Linked DNA regions of Homo sapiens: region 1 is linked to region 2. The links are contacts of gene promoters, found by promoter capture Hi-C in human tissues and cell types (Jung and others, 2019). All regions are on one chromosome and are shown on one strand. The core of a region is centred on a gene start or on the middle of the fragment in contact, and the rest is flanking DNA. Distances in the headings are between cores, read along the strand shown. Region 1 holds the start of MAEA (macrophage erythroblast attacher, E3 ubiquitin ligase). Region 2 holds the start of PCGF3 (polycomb group ring finger 3).

Region 1 (6,240 bases), core at 3,726-6,225, 580 kb after region 2:
AGTCCAGATGGACAGCCAACCCACACTGGGCAAGACTTTGGAGCCTAAGATTTTGGAAGTTTGAACCAAGAGACGCAGAACATGGCAGCTGTTGAATGCTATACTACGACAAAAAGTATATTTGGTCTTGGTCCCTGGTTCCGGTCACCAAGTGTCTAAAACCCTTGCGATTTCCTGAGTGTGGGAGCGTCTTCTTTCTTCATAAGGAACTCCTTCCCACCACACCTGAGTTTATGTTAATGAAGTGACTCTGGGTGGGGCCTCCAGATATCACTAGAAAGACCCGGAGATTGGTTGGCAGGAATTCTCAGCCCCTCTCCCACTCCACCTCCACCTCTGGGGATGAGGGGGGCTGGGGATTGAGATATGAAAATGTGTGAATAATGAGATTCAGGAGAGCCTCCTGGCTGGTGGATGCCCCGAAGTGCTGAGCGGCTGCCGCGCAGAGAAGGCTTGGGAGCTCCTCGCCCCACCATGCCCGATGCACTCCCGTTAGCTATTCCTGAGCTGTGTCCTTCATAATAAGCTGGGAAGCATTAAGTGTTTCCTGAGCTCTGTGAGTCATTCTAGCAAATTATTGAACCTGAGGAAGGGTTTGTGGGAGCCCCAAATGTGTCATCTGCCTTGTGGGTGGCCTGGGCACCCCATGTGCAGCCGTCACCTGGAGTGGGGACAGCCTTGTGGAACGGAGCCCTTGGCCTGTGGGGTCTGTGCTAACTCTGCGAGTGAGTGTGAATGGGGTTGGATTGTAGGATAGCCAGTTGGTGGCAGAGTCTGACAGCTGGACAATTTCAAGTTATATAAACCAAAAATAAGATACTAAGCTCCCCCAACTGACTGAATGGAACCCCCTACCCCCACCTTCAGCCAAGGGGGTTTCAAAGAAACCTGAAAAATCAGTTCAGGACACGATGGCGGCGCATGACTTTTCTTGGTCACTTGTCAGCCAGAGACCCCCAGCCAGCGACACCCTTGCTCAGGCCCAGGTTTGCCACAGGAGATGCCCATTCACTTGGCCCATCATGTCATGCCAGGCCCGCACTCCAGCGTTTGCGGCTGTTCCGACTGTGCACTCAGCCCCCAGTGGGAGGGGGTGTGAGCGAGTGAGTGCGGGGTCCAGCCAACGGTTCCAAGTGTCAGCACAGACGCAGGCTCCATGCAGGGCTTGTGGCTGGACCAGGCATGTTGCAAGCCACTCCCATGGTGGACTCCGGCGTCCAGACAAGGGGAACACGGTGGCGCCCAGGTAGGGGTGCTGTGATCCTGAAGCCCCAGAGGGGGTGTTACAGCATGCTAATTAGCTCTTTTAGTCTGCATCCTGATGGACAGTGGTGCGTCAACAGCTCTGTCAGCCGCTTGCCCCGCATCAGCCCATGGCTCCAGGGCTGGCTCAGTCCCACTGCTGCTTCTGTCACATGGGGTGGCTGCCCTCTGCTGGTGAAGGGCAAAGGGTTATGGAGTTACAGCCTTCTCTGTATTCACATTTGGTGCATCCTGAGCTCTTGTCCCACGTCCAAGAAGAATGATGATACACTGACAATTGAAGGGTGAGGAGGATGGAGAAGAATTTTATTGAGTGACAAAGCAGCTCTCAGTGGAGCAGGGATGTGAGGGTGGTCCCCCACCTGAAGTCGGATGGTTTCTCTCTCCATGTGGCTGGGTTTGGGGCTTTCATGGGCTCAGAGTGCACACTGATTGGTTTGTGAGGATGCAAAAATGGCTAAAACAAAGGCATCACTCAAAGGTGGGGACAACAGTGTAAAAAGCAATTAGGGGCTGGGTGCGGTGGCTCACGCCTGTAATCCTAGCACTTTGGGAGGCTGAGGTGGGTGGATCACAAGGTCAGGAGATTGACACCATCCTGGCTAACACGGTGAAACCCCATCTCTACTAAAAATACAAAAAAAATTAGCTGGGCGTGGTGGCGGGTGCCTGTAGTCCCAGCTACTCGGGAGGCTGAGGCAGGAGAATGGCGTGAACCTGGGAGGCAGAGCTTGCAGTAAGCCGAGATCGTGCCACTGCACTCCAGCCTGGGAGACAGAGCGAGACTCCATCTCAAAAAAAAAAAAAACCAAAAAAACAACCAACCAACAAACAAAAAGCCAATTAGGGAAGGATAGGTATATGTAAAATAGGTGAAGGGTGGGGACCAATCAGAGGAAAGCATGCCAGGCAGGAAGACAGGTTCCCAATCTAGTCCATGGATTTACCTGGGACTTGTAGGTCGGCTTTAAACTGTCTTCGGCTTGAAGGTCGGGTTTCACTGGGTAACTGCTCGGTCTGCCTCCTGCCACTATTAACGTGAAGGGAGAGTTGGACATGCCTCAGTATCCCCTCCTCCCTTTCGAGTTCAGGCACAAAACTTACCAGCATTAACATTAAAACAGAGATCTTAAGACTGACAAAACAGACTCTGTAGCAATAAGATGCCAAATTCCAACTTGACTCTAGTAGAGCATCACATGACAGATAGCTGGCCTTGAAGGAAATCAAAGTGTTTTACCCCAAAATATATTTCTTTGACATATTTTGAAAGGGCCCTGCAAAGCTGTCTCTTGTGGGAGAAATTTACATTCTGTAGGGAATCCCTTGCCCTTCCTTTCCGGGTCTTTTCTGATTCTGAAGAAGTTAATGGTTAACTGAGAGTCTAGCAGCTCTTGTTTTTTTTTTTTTTTTTTTTTTTTTTTAGGAGTCTCGCTGTGTCACCCAGGCTGGAGTGCAGTGGTGTGATCTTGGCTTACTGCAACCTCTGCCTCCCAGGTTCAAGTGATTCTCCTGCCTCAGCCTCCCAAGTACCTGGGACTACAGGTGAGTGCCACCACATCCAGCTAATTTTTGTATTTTTAGTAGAGACAGGGTTTTACCATGTTGGCCAGGATAGTCTTGATCTCTGACCTCGTGATCCGCCCGCCTCGGCCTCCCAAAGTGCTGGGATTACAGGCGTGAGCCACAGCACCCGGCCAAGTCTAGCAGCTTTTTAAGATCTAGATATGAAACATTTGCCATCTATTGCTTCTAATGGTGGCCACCTATGAGGCTTCATCTATGTAATAAGAACGTTGGTCTCCACAACCCCTTTTAACCCAGATGCTCCTTTCTCTCGATTCCAGATCTTTAGATAAGCACTCTTTCAACCAAATGCCAATCAGAAAATCTTTGAATCCACCTGTGAGCTGGAAGCCCCGCTGTGCTTTGTGTTGTCCTGCCTTTTCGGACCAATGTAAATCTCACATGTACTGATTGATGCCTACATCTCCTTAAAACGTATAAAATCAAGCTGTAACCCAACCACCTTGGGCATGTGTTCTGAGGACCTCTTGAGGCTGTGTCACTGGTCATGATCCTTAACCTTGGCAACATAAACTTCTAAACTGATTGAGATCTGTCTCAGACACTTTTTGGTTTACAAAAGGACTAATTCAAATACAGTTTTATCTTCCAACATAAGAAAACCTAGAATGAATGACTCAAAGGTTGTAGAGGGTTAAACAACCTCTCCAACGTGCAAACCTCTGCCTTATAATTCCTAAGTATTTCTGACTGTAGATGGTACTAGGATAGGATCATTTTACCATGGAAATGAAACCCGTGTCCTTTCCTTTGGGTTAATCTTGAATCCCTGGTGAAGTGAAGGCAGTCTCTAAGAGGAGTGCAGTCCATCCAACTGCTGCAGTGCTCCTGTGTACTACTGGGACCATCCCGGAGAGTGGCAGACACGATGCGAACCGTGAAAGGACGCAAAGAGTACAGAGTGCATGCTTCCATCTCTATAGGAAGGTCAGGAACGCTGTTACGGGGAGCAGGGTTAGAATGATGGGGATATAGCCCGGGAAGGGGCAGAGGAGCTTTCTGTGCCACGGGAAATGTCCTAAATCTCAACCAGGACACGGTTAGATAAAAGTGCAAATATGGGTGAAAATTCATTAAAGCTGTATAGTTAAGATTTGTGCACCTCACTGTAAAACTTACTTCAAATGTCTAAAAGACTGGAGTCTGCAGCCACACACTTGAGGAATAACACTTTCCTTAGTCCCAACTCCTGTTTAAGTAAGACAGAGAAAGATTCCACAGTGCGGGTCGGATGTCTTGCGGCTGTAACATGTAGCAGCCTCCAAGCGGAGGTTCTCCCTTCATCGCTGTGTCACCTTAGATGTTTTTCCTTTGTTTAAACACCAAATATTTTAAAAGTTGTTTAGAAATGTGTTATGTGAAACACAAGGTGGTTTAATTGGGACGTCATTTCCTAATTAATAAAATCTAATTTCAGTTTTATTTTGGAAAGGAGGGAGACGGGTGGTGTTTGAAAGGCTGAGAATGTGAAGTGGCTGAAATGAAGGCAGCGCACGACCTGGATGCCAGCGCTGCCCGCCCTGCAAGGAGAGGGCGGAGAGGCCACACGCTTCTCATGCTTCGGGAGTTTCTGTCCATAAATCAGTTTTAGGTACTGGGCCTTTCCTCTTCCGTTGGGAAGTCGGAGGTTCCACATCAGGATTCCAGCAGCTGTAAATCGGTCAAAATAAGGCCAAAGAAAAATAGCTGGCTACAGGCGCATGCGGCCAGGCGTTTTGTTGGCGTTGCCCTTGGTACCGCAGGCACGAGGGACCCACAGGGGACCACCCCGCGGGAGCCCCAAGTAACTGGACGGACGCCAAGTCCCCCAGCCCGCTCGGCCCCAGCTCCACCCGCCCGGGCCGCAGCCCGCACCCCATCGGCCCGCCCCGGGCCAGGAGCATCCCCAGCTCCGGCGTCTGCGGCCTGAACCCGGTAGCGAATTCAAGGTGGAAACCGCCAGCCGGGGCTATCGTTGATTGGCTGAACGAGAGGAAACCCGGCAGTGATTGGTTCGCGCCTTCTTCCGCCTCCGGCCGACTGGGCGGATACGATTGGTGCAGGGGCATCGGCCCGCCCCCATCCTGCTCCGGCCGGCGCGTGGCGTCATTTCCCGGCGTGCAGCGCGCTCGCGCGTCCCCCGCCCGCTAATGTTTTGGCCGCTTCAAGATGGCGGTGCAGGAGTCGGCGGCTCAGTTGTCCATGACCCTGAAGGTCCAGGAGTACCCGACCCTCAAGGTGGGCGCCTGCGCCGCGCAGGCTGAGGGCAGCGAAGGCGTCTCCAGCCAGTGCCCTCGGGCCGCGAGGGGCCGCCCCGGGAGGGCCAGCGGCGAGGGCGGCGGGAGCTGGGCGCGGCCTCGCGGGGCCGTGCGGGCTTCTCAGGGGCGCCCGGTCCGCGCCGGGCAGGTGTGGCGGGGGCGGCGGCTTTGGCCCTGCCAGGCGCCCGACTGTGGCCCCTCTGCTTGAAGAGCTGCGTGAGCCGAGCCAGCGACGACTCTGGCAGCGCTAAGGGTGGCGAATTTGGGGCTGGGGTGGAAGCCGGAGTTTGCGGGGCGTGGGGTCTCTGGCGCCCAGGCAGACGGAGTGCGCGGCGTGCCCAGCCAGTGCCCGGCCGCCCTCCCGGGAGCCCAGGGCTGGGAGGTGCCGGCTGCGCCGGTCGCTAGTTAGGAACTGTAGGGAGAAACCTCACGGCCTGATGGCACCCAGCGACCTTTTTGATGGGCGTCACCAAACCTGAAATACAGCTCTTGCCGTCCGGCTGCCGGTTGCGTGACCTTGGGTGGTCACCTAGCCACGTCGCACTTCTTAGAATGAAATTTGTGCTCCTAGTAGAAGGAGCCGATACTTGTTCTTTACCTAGTTAGTAGAGGATTTGATATGAAGCACCTGGGAAGGAATTCCTTAAAAGATCAAGGTCATAGCTTTCCTAGAGCTGCGGCTGAGCTTCGTGGTTCTGTGTTGCCTTCCTGGAGAGCTGCGTAGTTTCTCTCTCCTCCCAGAGCGCCCTGGTGTTCACGTCCGTCTGAGGACGGACGGTGTGGCGACAGGTGTGGAGGATGCAGTATGGCCAGGTTGCTGTGCGTTCCCCCAGCCCCAGGGCAGTTCAGCGAAGGGCTGAAGAGCACAGGCTGTGAGCCATCCTGCTGGGGTGTGAATCAGGCTTCTCTGTATTCGTCCTTACTGGGAGACATCAGGGCCCGGTTGGTGACTGTTTATTCTTGTCAGGTTTAAGCAGTGGTAGCGCCTGTGTCACCTCAGGGTGAAATGAGTGACCACGTATTGTTTCAAACAGTGCCTAGCATTCATTAAAAGGTCCCTGCTACAGTTAGCGCTGCTGAAGTCAGGCTGTACCCTGCTGTAGCTGGTCTTCATAGGAAAGCAGAAGCAAGCTTCTCCTCCTCTTTATTAACT
Region 2 (6,646 bases), core at 243-2,742:
AGCAGGCCCCCAGCCCTTCTCAGGCCCCTCTCAGCAGCGGACTCAAGCCGCTTCCCCACGTGCTGCACCATACCTGGGCCCGGGGCCCCCTGCCTGGTGGCTGCTCCCGGGGTCCAACTCTAGACTTCACGGGGACAGTCGCAGGGTCACTCCCTCAGCCACCACCTCTCCAGACGGGACGAGCTAATGACTCCCGACTCCTGCTCCATGCCTGCACCGCACAGCCTCGCAGCGAGTGCCCCTGGGCCTACGGGGCCTCCCCTCTCGCCACCAAGCCTCCACACTGCGCGGTGCCCCGCCGCCCGGAACCACAGTGGTCTCGCTTCCCACCCAAGACCCAACCTGCCCTCCCGTCCTGGGCCGCCAGCCCAGAACCCGCAAACCGGGAGACCCTAGGACCCCGCGTGCCTGCACGTCCGCCTCACCCCCGCACGCGCCCTCGGTCCTCGGATCCCGCCCTCTCAGGACAGTGCCAGTCCCACGAAGGCGCAAATGCCGCCCGTACTGCTCCACCCTGGCGGAGGGCACCCAGGTCGGAGAGTCCGCACGTGGGTGCCCTGTCCGTCCTGATGCTGAACATAACCTAAATACAAGCCTAAACATGACCAGACCCGAACCCCTGACCCTGACCCCACCCCTAATCCTGACCCTAACCCTAAACCCAACCCTAACCCTAAACCTAACCCCTAACTCTGACCCTACCCCTAATCCTGACCCTAACCGTAAAACCAACCCTAACCCTAACCCCTAATGCTGACCCTAACCCTAAATCCAGTCCTAACCCTGACTCTAACCCTAACCCTGACCCTAACCCTAAAACCCAACCCTAACCCTAACCCTGACCCTAACCCTAAACCCAACCCTAACCCTAGACCAGACCCTAACCCCTGACCCTGACCCCACCCCTAATCCTGACCCTAACCATAAACCCAACCCTAACCCTAACCCCTAATGCTGACCCTAGCCCTAAACCCAGTCCTAACCCTGACTCTAACCCCTAACCCTGACCCTAAACCTAAACCCAACCCTAACCCTGACTCTGACCCCTAACCCGACCCCTGACCCTAACACCGACCCTTAACCCTGCCGGGAGGGCGCTCAGTCCCGGCTCCCACAAAGGACAGCAGCACCCGTACTGGACGGCACCCCCGGAGGGACCCGGGCCTGAGGACTCTGCTGCTCCAGCGCCCCAGCTCACGATCGTCCAGGACCCGTCGGGTCCCTCAGCACAGCGCGGCCCTGTCGCTCTCCTGACCACGCCCCTCATGGCCCCGCCCTATGCCTCGCCCCTGGCCCTCGCGCCCCGCGGCTCCCTCCGCCGAGTCCAGGCCCGACGCGCCTGCGCCCTCTGAACACGCCCCTCCCCGCCCCTATCCCCACCCCTTACCGCCTGGCCCCGCCCACGCCCCTTGCCGCGGGGTGGGAGCCCAGACGCACACCGCGCATGCTCCGAGCGCGGCGCCCCCGACGCGGCGCTCGGCTCGGCTCGGGCATTTCCGCCTCTTTGTTTTAAACTCCGGACGGGCTTTTTTCTCCTCCTCTTGGGGGGGACCCAGAGGGAGCGGCGCCCCCTCCCCCCTCCGGCGCGGACCCCGCGTGCGCCTTGCTCGCCCGCAGCCCCGAGACCGCAGGTCAGTGAGTCCGCCCCGCCTGGCCTGGGCCCTCGGCGCCCGCTCCTCAGGCTGCGGCCTCGGCCCGTGTCCGGCCCGGAAGGCTCCGAACCCCGGGCCCGCGCTCCGTCGTCCCCGTCGGCCTGGCCCGGGAAGCCCTTGGCAGGCCCGGGAGGGCCGGCACCCCAGCCCAGTCAGGACTCCGGGAGGTCGAAGACCCCAGCCCAGGCAGGACTCCGGGAGGGCCAAGAGCCCAGCCCAGGCAGGACCCCGGGAGGGCTGGGACTCCAGCCTAGGCAGGACGCAGGGAGGGCAAGACCCCAGCCCAGGCAGGACTCCGGGAGGTCGAAGACCCCAGCCCAGGCAGGACCCAGGGAGGGCTGGGACAGCAGCCCAGGCAGGACGCAGGGAGGGCAAGACCCCAGTCCAGGCAGGACGCAGGGAGGGCAAGACCCCAGCCCAGGCAGGACTCCGGGAGGTCGAAGACCCCAGCCCAGGCAGGACCCAGGGAGGGCAAAGACCCCAGAACAGGGAGGGCCAAGACCCCAGACCAGGCAGGACCCCGGGAGGGCCAAGACCCCAGACCAGGCAGGACCCAGGGAGGGCGAAGACCCCAGCCCAGGCAGGACCGCGGGAGGGCAGGGACCCCAGACCAGGCAGGACCCCGGGAGGGCCAAGACCCCAGACCAGGCAGGACCCAGGGAGGGCGAAGACCCCAGCCCAGGCAGGACCGCGGGAGGGCAGGGACCCCAGACCAGGCAGGACCCTGGGAAGGTCGCGACCCCAGCCCAGGCAGGACCCAGGGAGGGCGAAGACCCCAGACCAGGCAGGACCCAGGTGAGGGCGAAGACCCCAGCCCAGGCAGGACCGCGGGAGGGCAGGGACCCCAGACCAGGCAGGACCCTGGGAAGGTCGCGACCCCAGCCCAGGCAGGACCCAGGGAGGGCGAAGACCCCAGACCAGGCAGGACCCAGGTGAGGGCAAAGACCCCAGCCCAGGCAGGACCGCGGGAGGGTAGGGACCCCAGCCCAGGCAGGACCCTGGGAAGGTCGCGACCCCAGCCCAGGCAGGACCCCGGGAGGGCTGGGTCTTCAGACCAGGCAGGACCTGAAGAGAGTTGGGCTCTGGGATTGCACAGGACCCCCAGAGTGCTAGGACACAATGACACATCATCCAGGAGGGTCTGACCCTGGGACAGGTCACCGAGAAGGGCTGGGACCCCAAGATGGGTCACCAAGGAGGGTCGGACCTGGCCACCTGGCAGGGCCCGGGGGGGCTAGGACCCTGGGAAGAATCACGGAGGAGGGCCAGACGTAGGGACCAGGCAGAATCCAAAGAATGCCAGGACCCCAGAATAGATCCCCCAGGAAGGTCCTGCCTTAAAGTGGGTCACAGACGAGGGCCAGGACCCCATGACCATAATTCAGGAGGACCTGACCCTGGAGCAGTCTTGTGAGTCCTGTGAGCACTGCTGGGACCCTGAGACTGCCCCGTCTCCCCCGGGACCCTGAGACAGCCCTGTTTTCCCCTGGGGGCCGGGACCCTGGGACAGCCTGTTTTCACCCGGGGGCCGGGACCCTGGGACAGCCCTGTTTTCCCCTGGGGGTCGGGACCCTGGGACAGCTCTGTTTTCCCCTGGGGGTCGGGACTCTGGGACAGCTCTGTTTTCCCCTGGGGGTCGGGACCCTGGGACAGCCCTGTTTTCCCCTGGGGGTCGGGACCCTGGGACAGCTCTGTTTTCCCCTGGGGGCCGGGACCCTGAGACAGCTCTGTTTTCACCTGGGGGCCGGGACCCTGAGACAGCTCTGTTTTCACCTGGGGGCCGGGACCCTGGGACAGCTCTGTTTTCCCCTGGGGGCCGGGACCCTGGGACAGCCCTGTTTTCCCCTGGGGGTCGGGACCCTGGGACAGCCCTGTTTTCACCTGGGGGTCGGGACCCTGAGACAGCCCTGTTTTCCCCTGGGGGTCGGGACCCTGGGACAGCCCTGTTTTCCCCTGGGGGCCGGGACCCTGGGACAGCCCTGTTTTCCCCTGGGGGTCGGGACCCTGGGACAGCCCTGTTTTCCCCTGGGGGCCGGGACCCTGGGACAGCCCTGTTTTCACCTGGGGGCCGGGACCCTGGGACAGCCCTGTTTTCACCTGGGGGCCGGGACCCTGAGACAGCCCTGTTTTCTCCCAGGGCCCGGCACCCTGAGACTGGACAGTGAGAAGGGCTCATGACATGGACAGGCTTCTAGATGACCAGGACCTCAAACGGGGTCACTTAGGGTCGGGACACTGGTGTGGACTGGGAAGAAGGCTAGGCTCTCAAAGAGGACCTGATGAGAGCTGGAACTTCCAGACAGGTCCTCAGAGGGCTGGGACTCCTGAACAAGTCACTGAGGAGCATGTAGGCCCCAAGACTGGACTGTAAGGAGTACTGGGACCCTCGGGGGGGAATCCAGCAGTGTCCTGAATCTGCCCAGTCCACTCAGCTGGATGCACCTGCTGTGAAGGCCAGGCATCTGGCATCCTGGTACCCGAGGCCCTTTCCATGAGACCCTGGGCCAGCCCCACAGCCCCTGCACATGAACCGCCTAGGTGATACCTGGGGTAGGTATGAGGCAGGGGCCTCAGGGTTCCAGGAGCTCCCAGCCCACAGGCTCCACACCTCAGGCTGGCACTGCACCCTCCCACTCAGCCCCTCGTCCGGGGCTGCTGTCCTGTCCTTGCCTTGGCTGTGGTCCGTGTCCAGCACCTTCAACCCCTCCTGCCCCTCTCCCCATCTTCAAGGTCATGTGAGTGCCCCACTTCCTCAGTGTAGAGGCGTTTCCAGTGTCCGGGAGACTTGGAGGAGGGGTGGGGTCTGAGCTGGGATGTGGACTCCTGGGCATATTTTGGGGACAGTTGGTCCAAGTCAGGAAAGTTGGAGCAGGCAAGGCTATTTCCCACTCCCTCTCTAGTAAGGGAAGGAATTAAAGGATCCTGGTGGTGATCGGGCTGGGGACGGGGGTTGGTTTATTTCTCTGAAACCTTTGAATCAGCCTTTTATCAAAAACTTGTGGGTGTTTTCCTTTAATTTGGAAGTGGTAATGAAAAAGTGGGGTGCATGAGGTATTCAGAAGCGAGCGGTCTATGCTGTCCTTTGACTAGGGAAGGGTTGTCTAGTGACATCTTGTCAGGGGTGTTTCCAGAGGGTGGTCATCCCAGGAACCCTGCTCCCAGAGGGTGCCGTGTGGCTGCTTGGTGTGCCGTACATTCCCCAAAAGAGTGAATGATGCATGAACGAATGAAAGGCAAGAGTGAATGATGCATGAACAAATGAATGAAAGGCAAGAGTGAATGATGCATGAACAAATGAATGAAAGGCAAGAGTGAATGATGCATGAACAAATGAATGAAAGGCAAGAGTGAATGATGCATGAACAAATGAATGAAAGGCAAGAGTGAATGATGCATGAACACATGAATGAAAGGCAAGAGTGAATGATGCATGAACAAATGAATGAAAGGCAAGAGTGAATGATCCATGAGCAAATGAATGAAAGGCAAGCGTGAATGATCCATGAACAAATGAATGAAAGGCAAGAGTGAATGATGTATGAACAAATGAATGAAAGGCAAGAGTGAGTGATGCATGAACAAATGAATGAAAGGCAGGGCCGCTCTTCAGAGACATCCCCTCGGATTAGGCGTGCGGGCTTGCCTGGAAGTTGGGCAGTACAATGAGGTGTAACCCTAAAACTCTGAGCTATCTAGACTCCCAAGAGAGACACTGAATTGGATGGTTCGGGATTTCATCTTTGCCACAGCTTCACTTCTTGGTTACTTAGGAGAAAACCGTGTTAGGTTTTCAGCTTAACATTTCAGGGTACTCAGTGTCAGCCACGTCGTGTCCCTGCGTGGTCAGCCTGGACCTAGAAGCTCTTACTCGCCCAGTGTAACCGCCAGGGACCTTTTTACTCAACACTTCCTTCTGATTTGCTCTTTTGACATATCCTTTACTGTTTTTTAAACTTCATTTGCTTTGTGAAATTGTGGAAGAGGCTTGTGAAGCTGAGTGTTCAGGTTTGTTTGGCTCTGTACTGTCTGGTTCCCAGGCTTTTAGAGGTGTGTTTTAGAGGTGTTTTTAGGCCGTGCTGAGTGGTTGTATTATTTATATATTGCTGTGTGGCAGATTACCCCAGAACCCCTGCCTTAAACCAACAGTCCGATGATAACTTACTGTTTCTGTGGGTTGGGAGACCAGGTGGGCTCTGGCTCAGGGACCTCCCATCTGGGGTTGTGTCTCCTCTGAAGGCTGGACTGGGGAGGGTCCGCAGCCAGGCTGTGTCACGTGACTGTGGGCTGGAGACCTCAGTTCCTTTCTCTATAGGGCAGCTCCGAGGGAGCCCATGCCTAGCCAGAGAGGGACAGGAAGGACGTCCCAGTGTTTGTGGAGTGACATTCTACCACTTTTGCCAAGAGTCATTCGGCCCCTACACACTTGAGGGGAGGGGACTCCAAAACGGTGAGCATACGATGGGCAGGTGGGGTCACTGGAACACTTAAAGCCTGCCCAGCACAGCGGTGCTGTGAGCCTGGCACCTCTCAGGGCACTGGAGAGACATCCCGTAAGTAAATCAGCGATTGCGTGTGGAGTGACGTGTTAAGATGAGGATGTGACTGTTCAGCTGTCTCTTTAATTGGTGTGGGTTTCTCCGATGTCACCGTCATGATTGAGATATTTGTGATACGTAAAAGAAGATAAATTACAGATAGAAAAGATTCTTAGGAATTAACTTGCAATTTGGCATACCAGTAGCAAGCCAAAAGACCCCCCCACAAATTAAATTACAAGGTGTGTGTCACTGATGTCAAATCCTTCCCAACAGCTTCAAGTGCAAGGATTTTTGCTGTTCCCAGAGTCCCCTCATTTTCTTCCTGCCAGTGATTTTGCTCCAGAAATTATCAACCGACTTCTGTTAAGTTTTCCTAAACCATTTTAAATATATGGGGGAAATGTTTTTACCAGTTACAGTAGACCTTGCGCTTGCAGTTATTTGTGACTTCATAAA

Evidence for each region. Contacts are between HindIII fragments. The study calls those that stand out against the background at their distance.
Region 1: the fragment with the promoter of MAEA here is called in contact with the fragment with the promoter of PCGF3 in region 2 in 1 of the 25 tissues and cell types used here (lymphoblastoid cells).

The regions. Positions count from the first base shown.
Region 1 is chr4:1,284,916-1,291,155 of GRCh38, forward strand. It overlaps MAEA (macrophage erythroblast attacher, E3 ubiquitin ligase), which reads left to right and starts at 4,976. Exons shown (of 9, transcript NM_001017405.3): 1 at 4,976-5,067. The coding sequence starts at 4,999. LOC105374347 (a long non-coding RNA gene) reads right to left here and starts at 4,656. Exons shown (of 3, transcript XR_925046.3): 1 at 3,970-4,656; 2 at 2,211-2,293; 3 at 1,449-1,533. It overlaps LOC105374346 (a long non-coding RNA gene), which reads left to right and starts at 2,688. Exons shown (of 2, transcript XR_925043.3): 1 at 2,688-2,808; 2 at 3,111-3,379. RefSeq lists silencers at 4,497-4,906, 5,007-5,286. The HindIII fragment of the contact is 22,633 bases long and covers 1-6,240 here.
Region 2 is chr4:704,340-710,985 of GRCh38, forward strand. It overlaps PCGF3 (polycomb group ring finger 3), which reads left to right and starts at 1,493. Exons shown (of 11, transcript NM_006315.7): 1 at 1,493-1,631. RefSeq lists enhancers at 1-240, 1,281-2,266, 2,267-3,251 and a silencer at 1,216-1,915. The HindIII fragment of the contact is 34,476 bases long and covers 1-6,646 here.